Regions from separate parts of the Homo sapiens genome. Here regions 1, 3, 4 and 5 are each linked to region 2. The links are contacts of gene promoters, found by promoter capture Hi-C in blood cells and fetal thymus (Javierre and others, 2016). All regions are on one chromosome and are shown on one strand. The core of a region is centred on a gene start or on the middle of the fragment in contact, and the rest is flanking DNA. Distances in the headings are between cores, read along the strand shown.

Region 1 (2,700 bases), core at 12-2,511, 380 kb after region 2:
CATTTTACGCTCACCTTTGAATGAGAGAGTCGCTGTCTGCAGAATTTTAGATTTCAAAATTATTTCCTCATCAAAATGGGGACTTAAGATCTGTGCATAGGCCAGGCACAGTGGCTCATGCCTATAATCTCAGTACTTTGGGAAACCAACACAAGTGGATCACTTGGGCCCAGGAGTTCAAGACCAGCCTGGGCAATATTGCAAGATCTCATCTGTACTAAATATTAAAAAATTAGTCAGGTGTGGCAGCATGTGCCTGTAGTCCCAGCTTACTCTGAAGGCTGAGGTGGGAGGATCACCTGAGGCCAGGGAGGCGGAGGCTGCAGTGAGCCATGATTGTGCCACTGCACTCCAGCCTGGATGACAGAGTGAGACCTTGTCTCAAAAAGAAAAAAAAAAGATATGTGCATATTATTATAGTAAATATGCTTCAATTAAAGAAAATCCCCCTGAACTTTGAAGATATTGTTCTATTGTCATTCTGTACCAAGTATTGCTGAGAAAAAGCCTACTGATAATGTGATTCTAATACTTTTGTGTGTGATCTGTTTTGGGGTGTTTTTTTTTTCTTCTTGGGTTTTCTGTTTATCCCTGGTACTCTGAAATGTCACCAGTATGTGTCAAAATGAAAGTCTTTTCTTCACTTATTCTGTTTGGCAACTGGGGGGCTTTTTCAATCTGAAAAGCTATGTCTTTCTTCAATTCTGAGAAATTGTTCTTTTATTTTTATTTCTGGTAGAGATGGGAGTCTTATATGTTGGCCAGGCTGGTCTTGAACTCCTGGCCACAAGCGATCCTCCCACCTTGGCCTCCCAAAGTGCTGGGATTATAGGCATGAGCCACCATGCCCAGCTCTAATCTTTCTTTGAGTTTCTCTTTTGTCCATTTTCTCTATTTTTTTCTTCTGGAATTCACATTGGATGGTTATTTGAACTTCATCTATTCTGTTTATTCTCTTTTTATATATTTCATCTCTTGTTAATTTTGGAATGCATTCTGGTTGATTCCAGATCATTAATACATTTTTCAGCTACATACTTTCTGCTACTCACTCTATCAAATAAGTTATTTTAAATTTTAATAGTCAAGCTTCTAATTCCAAAGGTATCTAGATTTTTCAATGCAATATCCTTTCATATGTGATTATAGTTATCCTAAAGCCCAGGTTTGTATGCTTTATTAACCCTATTTTTTCAGGTATGAACTCCTTTTGCTGTCAGTCCTTTCCATCATGATATTCACTTTTTTCAAATATTTGGCTTTTCTTGGCTGTGAGTTCACCTTTGGATCTGAAATTCCTTGTTAGCCTAAGTGGCCTGCTTGCAGACAGGTGCAGGACATGCAGCTATGACTTGGTGTACCTGTGTAAAGTGGAATGAAGGGATGGGATGTGCTGCTGGGCAGCATGAGCCAATGGTGAAACTTCCAGATGTGGAAGCTTCCTGCTATCCTTGGGAGCTGTTAATCTCTGGGGCTTTGTCTTGCCTCACACCCAATTGTTCACCTCTCACTGATCCTGCCCATGGGAAGACACCTCTGTGACTCACTGTGTGGCCTGAGGTGAACATTCCTGGCTGTCTATTCTGTGAGCCTCTACCAGTCACGGTCAGTCGATCATGGACCACCTGCGGTTCCCAGTTCACAAGTCCTGAGTTTGAAGCATTCCTAGAGCTGCTCTCACCTTTTGCGGCAGTCCTCTCCTCTGGCACGGTTTCCATATTTAATCTGATCCCACCTGTTTTCCACCTTTTATTGTGGTTTTAGTTCACCAGATTTTCCCTATATTGTTTTATAGGGAAGAAATATATTTGTTTAAATCATTCTGAGCAATGTATAGAGACTTGGAATAAAAGGAAACAACTACATGTGCTCAGTCTATCATCTTGAAATGGAAGTTGAAAAGCTCTTAGTATAGGCTTTTTTTTTTTTTGACAGAGTCTCACTCTGTCGCCCAGGCTGGAGTGCAGTGGCATGATCTTGGCTCACTGCAACCTCTGCCTCTCAGGTTCAAGCGAGTCTTCTGCCTCAGCTTCCTGAGTAGCTGGGACTACAGGCGTGCGCCACCACGCCTGGCTAATTTTTGTATTTTTAGTAGAGACAGGGTTTCACCATATTGGCCAAGCTGGTCTCACACTCCTGACCTTGTGATCTGCCTGCCTCAGCCTCCCAAAGTGCTGGGATTACAGGCGTCAGCCACCGCACCCAGCCAGTATAAGCTATTCTAACACTTACCACATTGAATATAATTATTTATTCCCCAGTATTGCTCCCAAGGACATAGGCAAGTCTGTGCTCATACTAAGATGGCTTCTAGAGTCAGATGTTTCAATATTCTTGGAATTAATTTGATGAATGAAGAAATGATTGCATCAGTGTGGTTATAACAAGGATCTAATTCTTATCCCATCATTTATAAGATGATTCCTTCTACCTGCCCCTCAGTTTTCCTATCTATAAAATTAGAGAAATGTTAGAGATCATTCCTTTCATTTCAGTCTTAAAGAAATATGGGAAAGAAATATGGGAATATTTCTTGTAGAGCACATGTACTGGTAATGAATTTTCTGTTCTTGTTTATCTGGGAATATCTTAATTTCTTCTTCACTTTTGAAGGACAGTTTTGCTGGATACAGAATTTTTGGTTCACAGTCCTTTTCCTCCAGTACTTACATCATTCCACTGTCTTCTGGTCCCCATGAT
Region 2 (2,700 bases), core at 54-2,553:
CTCTGGAGATGCCCCACAAACACCCTCCTTCTGGCCCTGGCCTGAGTTGGGAAGGGCAGCCCAACTGGGTGGCAAGGCCCGGGTCCCAGTATCTTCAGGGGTCTCCCCCTCCTCCTTCTCCCCAGTGGACTTCGAGTGTCCGTTGACCTCTCTGGCAGAAGCCACAGAGGCCAGGGCTGGCAGTTTGGCTGAGGCCAAAGCCCCACCATGGTCGGGTCGGGGCTGCTTGGACTCACCCTGCCCAGGCCCCCCCTTGGCCCTGGGACCTCTGCGGTTGCTGCGTTTGGCGATCAGGTAGATGCGCAGGTAGACAAGGATCATGATGAGGCAAGGAGCAAAGAAAGATCCGATGCTGGAGGCCAGGATGTACCAGGCCTCCTGGTTGAGCTTGCACTGGGGGCGCCCGCGCGGCTGGGGGCCCTGGTCGCCCTTGTAGATGAGGGGCGGCAGCGAGATGACGGCGGCGATGAGCCACACAGTGAGGATGATGCACTTGATGCGGCGCGGGGTGCGCTTGGAGTTGTACTCCAGCGCGCGGCTCACGGCCCAGTAGCGGTCCAGGCTGATGGCGCACAGGTGCACGATGGACGAGGTGCAGAAGAGCACGTCGAGCGCCAGGTACACCTCGCACCACGTGCGCCGGAAGTACCAGTAGCCCAGCAGCTCGTTGGCCAGCGAGAAAGGGATGATGAGCGTGGCCACCAGGATGTCGGCGGCGGCCAGCGACACCAGGAACAGGTTCTGAGGGGCGCGCAGCGAGCGGCTGGTCAACACAGCCAGGATGACCAGAGCGTTGCCGAAGATGGTAAAGAGAATGAGGAAGGTGATGGCCGCCGCTATGGCCGCTGTGGCCTGCACGGAGTAGGGGTCCTGGTGGTCCATGACGGGGCGGGAGGTGGGCAGAGGGAGCGCTGCCCGCCCAGTGCGCACCGTGGACGACAGCGCTGCCCGGCTCGGCTAGACAAGAGCGTCGCCCCTCGGGCGGCGCCGAGGGCGCTGGAGCCCCATGGCCTGGACGAGCGGGGCCTAGGAGGTCGGGAACACCCAGGACCAGCAGCCGCCCTCCTACATCCTCCTCCACCGGTGCCCGGGGTCCCTGCCGTCCGCCCCAGAGAAGTTTCCCAAGTTGTCCCGCCGCCGTCCCCGTCCCGCCCGGGACCGGAGAAAGTCGCGCCCTCCCGCCACGCGGATGCCGTACGCTCTGGGGGCGCGGGCCGGGCTGGGCCGGTTCTTAAAGGAGGCGCGGAGGACCTTGCGCCCGCTCAGCTCGCAGGCTTTCGCCCCAGCCGCGCCTGCAGGGGAGTGGGGAGCGGGGAGAGCGGCTGGAGGAAGGCGGAGACTGGAGGCGGGCGCGGGAGCGGGCGGGAGGCGGGGCGGTGGGCGGACCGAGGTGGGCTGAAGGTGCGCTTCGCGGGAGGCGTGAGCCCGGGACTTCCCGCGCCCGGACCCCGCCCAGCGCCTCTACCTGCCTTCCTCCCGGCGGCCGCGCCTCGGGAGAGCGGAGGGGCCCGGCGGCCGGGGTCTCCGGCCCCCAGGCAGGACGCGCGCAGCTGTGGAGGGGTCGGTGGGTGCCGGGAGCCGGGACGCGGAGCTAGCGCGCGGGCCGGCACCGGGACGGGACACTTCTCCCGGGGGAACCGGGCTGGGCCCGGCGCCGGTGCGCCCTGCTCTGCCTTCCGCCGCTCGGGAGCCCGCAGGGAGGGCAGGGCGGGCGTGGGGCTGGGGCGCCGGGTCGCAATACACCACAACCCCGCCCGGCTCGGCCGTGGAGACGCCCTGCGGAGAGGTGGGGGAGCGGGGAGCGGGGAGCCGGTCCCGACCCTTTCCCAGGCGCTGCCCCTCGCGGACCAGCTCCGTCGGGCCAGCGCCGCGCGAGGAGGGCGCGTCCCGGCCTGCGAGCGCCCCCTGCTGCCGCCCGCGGGCCCAGCCCGTCAGCGGCAGCCCGGGTCCCGGAGCCAGCGCTCGCAGCCTGGGTCTTAGGACTTCGGCTTCTTGTGTCTCCGCAGCTGCCTCAGTTTCCTCCATTAAGGGCAAAGGAGGTAACAGGGAAACTGGCTTGGACTCGAATCACAGCATCAACTGCGATTCAGCCAAGGGTTTGTACGGGGCACAGGGCGAGCTGCCGCCCCTTGACTAATGCGAAGGGGAGGTCCCTTCCTTGCCGTGGGGGAGTAAAGGGTGGGGACTTTGTCACACAGCTCCGAGAAAAAGCAGGTCTCAGGGGCAGCCGTGAAGAGAGGAGCGTCCCTCCGCTTCTGTAGTGACCCCGGGGGAAGGGGTTGACCCTCCCTCCCTGCTGCGGTCCTGCCCCACATACACACTGAAGCCCTTCTGGGGGTGACAGTGGAAAGAGGGTTGGGGTAAAAAGAAACTTCAGACTAAGGCCCCCCACTCGCCTTCAAAGCGCTATGAGCAACTGTTCTCCCTCAGGGCCCCAACTCACTCTCCCTGCCACACCGCCACCAGCACCAGCCTGGGCAGCCCTGAGGGCATGTTTCCCCGGTTCTGGAGCCCCTAATGTCATAAGCCCCGCCTCGAGCCAGGCCTCTTATTCACAGCCCACGACTCTGCAAGGCATCCTCTGTATAAATAAGCACCAATCCACCTCTGACAGTGGGGCTCCCCCAGGCCCCGTCCAACCTGCTGGACCTCCTCTCCTCCCTGCTCCCTCCATGGGAGCAGAGCACGTGGCCTCTCAGT
Region 3 (2,700 bases), core at 136-2,635, 460 kb after region 2:
CCACAATTTTGAGCTCTGCTTGCTTGGAAGGTCTTGGTTCCCAAGGGAGGACTATTTCCACCAGGGACCCAACAATGGCTCCATCAAACTGGAAGCTGAGACTGCCTCCATTTAGACATTTTTGGGTGCCTCATGACATTAAATCAAAAAAGAGCAGTGACTTTGCGGGCTGAAGTGACTGACCCCAATTATCAAGGGAAAATTGGGGTTATTACCACACGATCGTGGCAGAGGACTAGGTCTGGAACCCAGGGGATTTTCTGGGGCTCCAATGAACACTTCTAGCAAAAGTTAGTGCTGGCTTCTCCCCCTGCCACATGCACGAATATTTTCCCTTTTGGCTGTGCATTATTTAGTGGCTTTAGGACTAAACTGCTTAGGAAGAGAGGGAAAAAGACAAACCTACAGATTTGAAATTATTGTCCCTTGTTCCAGTTTTCCCTCTCCTTTGCATCTTTTGCTGCTCACCCTTCCCTGTTCTAACTCTCCACTTTTTTTCCATAGGGACCATCTGGTCTAGAATGACTGCTGACCTAATCTGGAATCAATCTCATTTGGTGCTGGGCATGATCCACATAAGAAGAGTCCCACTCCCCACTGCCTTGGTCTGCTTCTCCACTCTCGGAGAGGGCTCACCATGAGAAGCCCTGGCTTAGATCCTCCAGGACAGGTGCTCTCTAGGGAAGTCTGAACACATGGACCAAGAACCAAGTGGTCAAGCCTGGTTTCCACCTTCCTCAGTAATCACTTTAAGCCTGACAAGTTATGGGAAAATGGGATGCCCAGCATTGCCAGAGCCTACGACACCCATGTAGGAGCCATCTACCCATCCAATTAGCCAGACTGTCAATTCAACATGACATACAATTCTTCCTCAAAACCAGATTTGGTACAGATACTCCCTCTTCCTTGCCTGTTACCACCCATATTTGGCACCTCCCACGTGGTCTCTGGGCACTGTGAGCAAGCACAGTGTGTGCTTTTACAGGCCATTTAGATAAGAGGTTTGCAACCAATCAACCCTTTACCTATCATGGATAGGCCATGAGCTACTATTCAGTTTCCGAGCACAGCAGGCTTACCCACCACAACCCTGAGAGCCAAGTCATTGCGATTAGAGATTGCTTGAGAGTGGGCTTTGCAGTGGACTGCCAGAATTCGGCTATGGTTCTGCCACTTACCAGCTGTGTGATTTGGGCAAGTTACTTAACCTCTCTGTGCCTCAGTTTTTCCCTGAACTATAGAATACCAGTAATGATGGCCTAGGATAAAGCTTGAATGTAAGCATTGTTATTGTTCTCCCTACTTGGGGGAGGAGGGGGTGGGTGGAATCAATGCCAAGATGCAAGCAGGACTCAGAATTAACAAATGACACAGAGACAGAGCTGAGAATGGGGGCCAGGGTCCTAATTCTTTTTTTATTTCTTTTTTTTTTTTGAGACAGGGTCTTGCTCCGTCTCCCAGGATATGGAGTGCAGTAGCTCAATCATGGCTTACCGAAGCTTTGAACTCTCGGGCTCAAGAAACCTTCCCACCTCAGTCTCTTGAGTAACTGGGACTACAGGTGCATGCCACCATGTCTGGCTAATTAAAAAAAATTTTTTTTTTGGAGACAGGGGTCTCACTATGTTACCCAGGCTGGTCTTGAACTCCCGGTCTCAAGTGATCCTCCCTTCTCCTGAGTAGCTGAGTTTACAGGCGTGTACCCGCCTGGCTAATGAGTCCTAATACTTTTTTTTTTGAGACAGTGTCTCGCTCTGTCACCCAGGTTGGAGTGCAGTGGCGTGATCTCGGCTCACTGCAAGCTCCACCACCTGGGTTCAAGCTATTCTCCTGCCTCAGCCTCCTGAGTAACTGGGACTACAGGGACCCGCCACCACGCCCGGCTAATTTTTTTCTATTTTTAGTACCGACGAGATTTCACCGTGTTAGCCAGGATGGTCTCGATCTCATGACCTCATGATCTGCCTGCCTCGGCCTCCCAAAGTGCTGGGATTACAGGTGTGAGCCACCGTGCCCGGCCTAATGAGTCCTAATTCTTAATCCTTGGCCTTTCTCTTCAAGTTGCAAGTTGGGGCAGGAAACAAAGGTCAATGCAGGGCAGAGAATTTCTCCTCACGTGCCCCTCCCTTTTTATCAGGAGGAAACCCTTCCCAGTAGCCTCTGGCACAGTCCCCTTAAAATTCACTAGCCAGGACTGGGCTACATGCCCATCCCTCCCTGAGAAAGGGATCTCCCCCAAGTCTTCCACAACACTGTAATTCTAGTGGTATGAAGAATGGGAGAATAAGTCATCAGTTTTGTAGGCCATTCTTAACCTGCCCCTTGGCCACCCTGCCATCAGGATGCTTCCCTAGCCACCTTCTCTTCAAAAGCACCAGTAAATATAAAAAAATCCACTCTCTCCTACAGAGATATTAACCATCCTTTGCTTGAGCTACTAATACCTTACAGTCAGAGCCATCTCATCTATTCCAGTTTCTCAAGGAACCTTCCCCAAACCAAAAGCTCTCTTCCCCAAGAGGAATTCTGGTGCCAACTCATTACAAAAACTAATAAAAAACTACATGCATGGTGTGATTCCAACTACTGAAAAATATGTATGGAAAAGGACTAGAAACAAACACACTAAAATGTAAACAGACAATGCTTCTGGTTGATGAGATTATAGATATTCTTTTTTTTCTTCTTTATGCTTTT
Region 4 (2,700 bases), core at 200-2,699, 350 kb after region 2:
CTCCTGCCACCAGTGTGGTTCCCCAGAATGCTTTCAAATAAACCTTTACACACTAATCCCTTTCCCAGTCTATTTTTCCAGAAAACCAAACTTATGACAGGCCCAGTCTAGGTGACTTTTTTACCCCTCATGTGTTAGTGATCTATTGCTGCATAACAAATTACCCTAAAACTCAAGGGTTTGAAACAATAAATATTTATTATCTCACACAGCTTCTGTGAGTCAAGAATTTGGGAGCAACTTAGCTAGGTGCTTCTGGGTAGGCGCCTTGCATGAGAATGCATTTGAGATATGGCTAGGGTTGCTGTCTTCTCTCTGAAGACTTGACTGGGGACTGTTGGGCTCACTAACATGGCTGTTGGCAGGAGGCTTCAGCTTCTCTTCATGTAGACCTCTCCACCGGGGCTGCTTGAGTTTTCTCACAATGTGACAGCTGGCTTCCTCAAGGGCAGGTAATCCAAGAGATTACCAAGGGCAGGTAATCCAAGAGACAGTGGGGAGGAAGCAGCCATGCCTTTAATGACCTAGTCTTGGAGGTCATGCCCTGCCAATTCTGGATGATGGAGCCATTAGTTGATGACACCTGGAAGAGGGCAGGTTAGGAGAGTCTGTGTGTAGGGGGCAGTATTCAAGGTGAGGTTCGAGGAAGGATTTTCCAGATGCAGCATCTCTCAGGCCCTTTGGAAAGTGTGCCATTCATGAAAAACCTTGTGACTCGTAAGGCTTTAGTTGGCAAGAGAGATTTTTGTGGAAAACTATGCATAAGGGAAAAGCAATGGAAACATCAAACAGACATTTATTTATTTATTTTTATTTTACTTTAAGTTCTGGGATACATGTGCAGAATGTGCAGGTTTGTTACATAGGTATACATGTGCCATGGTGGTTTGCTGCACCTATCAACCCATCATCTAGGTTTTAAGCCCCACACACATTAGGTATTTTTCCTAATGCTCTCCCTCCCCTTGTCCCTCATGCTCTGACAGGCCCTGGTATGTGATATTCCCCTCCCTGTATCCATGTGTTCTTATTGTTCAAGTCCCACTTATGAGTGAGAACATGTGGTATTCGGCTTTGTGTTCCTGTGTTAGTTTGCTGAGAATGATGGCTTCAAGCTTCATCCATGTCCCTGCAAAGGACATGAACTCATTCTTTTTATGGCTGTATAGTATTCCACAGTGTATATGTGTCACATTTTCTTTATCCAGTCTATCATTAATGGGCACAACCAGACATTTAAAATCCGCTGTGTTAAAGTTCTAGTTTCCAAGCAGATCAGATTCTCTGATATTTAAAACCTACATTCCCTTTGTTCAAATCAATTTCTTCAATGGTCCAGGAAACCCCACCAAGTTCCCCCAGGCTCTCCACAGACTCTTTAAAGACCTGCAAGGTGGTGCCCTTGCCGCTGCATTTGCTCTTCATATGGTTCAGCTCAGGCTGCCTTAATAAAGCCCCATCGACTGGGGGCTTAACCACATACTGATTTCCTACAGTTCCTGAGGCTGGAAGTCCGAGATCAGAGTGCCAAGATGGTCAGGTTCTGTTAAGGGCCCTCTTCCTGGCTTGTAGGTGGCCTTTCTCACTGTGTCCTCACATGGCAAGAGAGGAAGATGAGTTCTCTGGTGTCTCTTTTTATAAGGATATTAATCCTATTTTGTATTGTTTCTGTCACTTTCAGTCCATGCTGATGGCGTTTCTGCCAACCATTTTCTTAAAACCTTTGTGAGTTTCTTGTAAATCTTAGTGGGGTTCACTTCACTAAAGACAAAAGTCACCCTTACAAAGCTTTCTGTTTGTTTGTTTTTGAGACGGGGGTCTCGCTCTGTCGCCCAGGCTGGAGTGCAGTGGTGTGATCACAGCTCACTGCAGCCTTGACCTCCTGGGCTCGAGCAATTCTCCCACCTCAGCTACCGAGTAGCTGATGCTACAGGTATGCACCACCACACCTGGCTAATTTTTTTTTAAGTTTTTTTTTTTTTAACTCTCAGAGCCCCAGCTCTGCTCTGTAGACATAGGGTCTCACTATGTTGCCCTGGCAGGTCTCCAGCACCTGGGCTCAAATGGTCTGCCTGTCTCAGCCTCCTACAAACCTTTTGGATAAGCCCTTCTCTACTGTGGACTTCTACTGAGACTGTAGCCCTAATTTTGCATAAATAGTTCTCCAAGGCACCTCCTTTAACTACCTTAAAAAGCAGTTCCATCATATCCTGTTTCTCTTTCTTTTAGAGACAGGGTCTTTCTATGTTGCCCAGGCTGGCCTTGAACTCCTGGTCTCAAGTAATGCTCAGGCCTCAGCCTCCTGAGTGGGCCTATGGGCACGCACCATCGCAACTGGCTTCCAGAACCTTTATTTGTCTCAGTGTGGTTTCACTCTGTGAATAGCTGTTCTGGGGTCTCTAGCCAATGTCCCATGTGTTCAAAGAACTCCCCGTTCTTTGGCTGGTAGAAACTTGAATAGTTCCTGGCTCTGTGTAAGATGTGAGAATTATTTGGCATGCAGTCATTGTTCTTTCCCAGGTAGTTGGGTTTTTTTTGTCTGGCTTTATGGAGTTTTCGCCTTATTCATTCACATACTGATATTCAGCCAAAAAGCTTATGTGACCCCTATTAGTATTTCTGGAGCTTTTCTCCACCTGGATTCTTTGTCTCTGGTACTCTGCTTTCCAAATTCTGATTACCACAGCCTAGCAAACACCG
Region 5 (2,700 bases), core at 149-2,648, 400 kb after region 2:
CCCTATTTTCAAGGGCCCTGCAATATTTGTGTCAACATGACATCACACTGTTCATTCTTCATAAGCCAGAGCCTTCCTCCACCCCCAGCCCCCTCATTCTCCCTCTCTTGGAGCCAATTCAAATCTCCTCACCCCCAAATCTATTTCTCATGCAGAGCAGTACAGCTCCCCCTCTGAACTAATATTATCCCCAGGCCTAACTTTGCGTGCCCCCAAATCTCCCTGAGGTGCTCTGCTAAACATCAAGACCACTGACTTCAGATTCTGGCAACACCATGGACTCAGCTAATGCTGATGCCACCTCCCCTGCCAACACTGAGAAACTCAGTACCAAATATAAGTGAAAGATGTTAGAACAACAGTGGAACTTGAAAAAGGAGTGGAGAAGCATTGAGGTGTCGAGTGTACAGAGAGAACTTAGAGCCAGATTTGGGCTTTAACCCAGGGGGCCCAGTGAGAAACTGGACATGGACGGGGGCCCCACCAACGGGAGCTGAGGGTTCAACACCCACTAGGATCCAGAGGTGTGGCCTTGTGGAGAACTGGAACTGAGACCTCTGTATAAAGCAAGAACCCTGGAAGGATGGCCCCTCAGAAAAGAATTACCCACAAAACTAGGAGGTGACACATGAATTTTGTCTTTGCCCAGGCCTCTGGGTGGAAGAAAAGTTTCCTGGGAAAAATCAAAACTGAAAACCAAAACTATTCATGAAGGTGGCAGCCAAATTTATGATATCCATATGGCAAAGAATTCCCAAGATGAAAAATTACACAAAAATGCTCCCCCATGAGCCCTTGGGAGCAGTTGTCAGAAACAAATACAAAACATCTCTGAGGCCATTTTCACAATCCAGAATATATAGGACTCCCATGGAACAAAACAACTCCACTGCAGATGAGTTCACAAACAACAGCTACAAATCACATGAAGAAACCATCTGCCATGAAGGAGAGCCAGCAGGCACAACACACAAGAAAATCATTAACTCCAGCTGGGCGTGGTGGCTCACGCCTGTAATCCCAGCACTTTGGGAGGCTGAGGCAGATGGATCACGAGGTCAGGAGATCGAGACCATCCTGGCTAACACGGTGAAACCCTGTCTCTACTAAAAATACAAAAAAATTAGCCAGGCGTGGTGGCGGGCACCTGTAGTCCCAGCTACGGGAGTCTGAGGCAGGAGAATGGCGTGATCCCGGGAGGCGGAGCTTACAGTGAGCCGAGATTGCACCACTGCACTCCAGCCTGGACTACAGAGTGAGACTCCATCTCAAAAAAAAAAAAAAGGAAAAAGAAAATCATTACCTCTAAGAACCTGAAATAATAGGACAAGCCAAAAGAGATATAAAATTAGCATATTAAAATGATTAAAAATACAAAGGAAGGAATAAAAATGATAAAGAACAGGATACTGTGTAAAACAACAGATTTGGAAAAGAACCACAGAGACAAAAGAATATGGTTATTGAATTTGTAAACACAATATACTGGCAAGCCAGCAGATTAGACACAGTTGAATTGAGAATAGGTGTACTGGAAGGCAGATCTGCAGAAATTCACCAGAACTCTGGCAAAGAGAATATTTGAAAGAAAAGCTAAAAGACATGGATAATAAAACGAGAAAGTCCAATATACCACTAATAGGAGTTCCAGAAGAAAAAGTCAAAATGAATCAGAAAGTGATAATATTTGCCACATTCAAACAAATAATGCATGAAGTTTTTCTAGAACAAGAAATAGCCATAAATCTTCAGATTGAAGAGGCCCATTGATTACTGAGCATGATAAAAATAAATATACAAATAGACATTGCAGAACACCAAAGGTAGATCTTAAAAGCAACTAGGGAGAAAATACAGCTTAATTTAAAAGGATCAATAATTAGATTGGAGACAAATTTTCTTAATAATATCTGCCAAAAACAATAAACATAAATATATTCAATGTGCTGAGGGAAGACAACCATGAACTTCAAGTTCCAGACCCATGAAAATTATTATTTAAGAGTAAGGGGGAAAAGATATTTGCAGACAAAAACAAGTTTTATCACTCAAGATCCTCACTGAAATAATTACTATAGGAACTGTAGGATATATATTGGTAAGATGGAAATGGAACCCACAGGAAATATATGCAATCGAAGTGTCCCAGTTATTTTTTGGGGGTATAACAAGCCACCCCAAATTTAGTGAAGTAAAAGAACAGCCATTTTATTATGCTCACAGGTTTTGTGGGTTAGGAACTCAAACAGATACAGCAAGGATGGCTCGACTTTTTTTTTTTTTTTTTGAGATGGTGTTTCGCTCTTGTTGCCCAGGCTGGAGTGCAATGGCACAATCTCAGTTCACTGAAACCTCCACCTCCCAGGTTCAAGCGATTCTTCTGCCTCAGCCTCCCAAGTAGCTGGGATTACAGGCGTGCACAACCACGACCGGCTAATTCTTGTATTTTTAGTAGAGACGGGGTTTCACCATGTTGGCCAGGCTGGTATTGAGCCCCTGAGCTCAAGTGATCCACCCACCTCGGCCTCCCAAAGTGCTGGGATTACAGGCATGAGCCACCAAGCCCAGCCAGCTCAACTTTTTAAATGATGTCTGGGGCTCCAGCTGGAAAGTCCTGAATGGCTCATGTGGCTGAGGGCTGGAAGCACCTGGAGGCCCCTTCACTCACATATCTAGGATCTGAGCTAAGATTATTCAAAG

Evidence for each region. Contacts are between HindIII fragments. The CHiCAGO score rates a contact against its expected background, and 5 or more counts as called.
Region 1: a fragment that was not itself captured here is called in contact with the fragment with the promoter of ADRA2B in region 2 in 3 of 17 cell types (total CD8 T cells, neutrophils and total B cells); the score reaches 6.7 in total CD8 T cells.
Region 3: a contact is called between a fragment that was not itself captured here and the fragment with the promoter of ADRA2B in region 2, in 4 of 17 cell types (total B cells, naive CD8 T cells, total CD4 T cells and 1 more). The highest score is 6.5, in total B cells.
Region 4: a fragment that was not itself captured here is called in contact with the fragment with the promoter of ADRA2B in region 2 in 1 of 17 cell types (erythroblasts); the score reaches 5.7 in erythroblasts.
Region 5: a contact is called between a fragment that was not itself captured here and the fragment with the promoter of ADRA2B in region 2, in 2 of 17 cell types (total B cells and activated CD4 T cells). The highest score is 5.9, in total B cells.

The regions. Positions count from the first base shown.
Region 1 is chr2:96,491,733-96,494,432 of GRCh38, forward strand. No RefSeq gene overlaps it. Among named protein-coding and RNA genes, the nearest start is that of NEURL3, 12 kb to the right of the region's middle. RefSeq lists an enhancer at 1,244-1,903. The HindIII fragment of the contact is 349 bases long and covers 1,088-1,436 here.
Region 2 is chr2:96,115,268-96,117,967 of GRCh38, forward strand. ADRA2B (adrenoceptor alpha 2B) reads right to left here and starts at 1,304. Exons shown (of 1, transcript NM_000682.7): 1 at 1-1,304. The coding sequence starts at 882. RefSeq lists silencers at 1,204-1,293, 1,394-1,553, 1,564-2,023, 2,064-2,133. The HindIII fragment of the contact is 8,066 bases long and covers 1-2,700 here.
Region 3 is chr2:96,576,731-96,579,430 of GRCh38, forward strand. No RefSeq gene overlaps it. Among named protein-coding and RNA genes, the nearest start is that of ARID5A, 41 kb to the left of the region's middle. The HindIII fragment of the contact is 229 bases long and covers 1,272-1,500 here.
Region 4 is chr2:96,464,382-96,467,081 of GRCh38, forward strand. No RefSeq gene overlaps it. Among named protein-coding and RNA genes, the nearest start is that of NEURL3, 40 kb to the right of the region's middle. The HindIII fragment of the contact is 673 bases long and covers 1,114-1,786 here.
Region 5 is chr2:96,515,715-96,518,414 of GRCh38, forward strand. No RefSeq gene overlaps it. Among named protein-coding and RNA genes, the nearest start is that of NEURL3, 12 kb to the left of the region's middle. The HindIII fragment of the contact is 4,133 bases long and covers 1-2,700 here.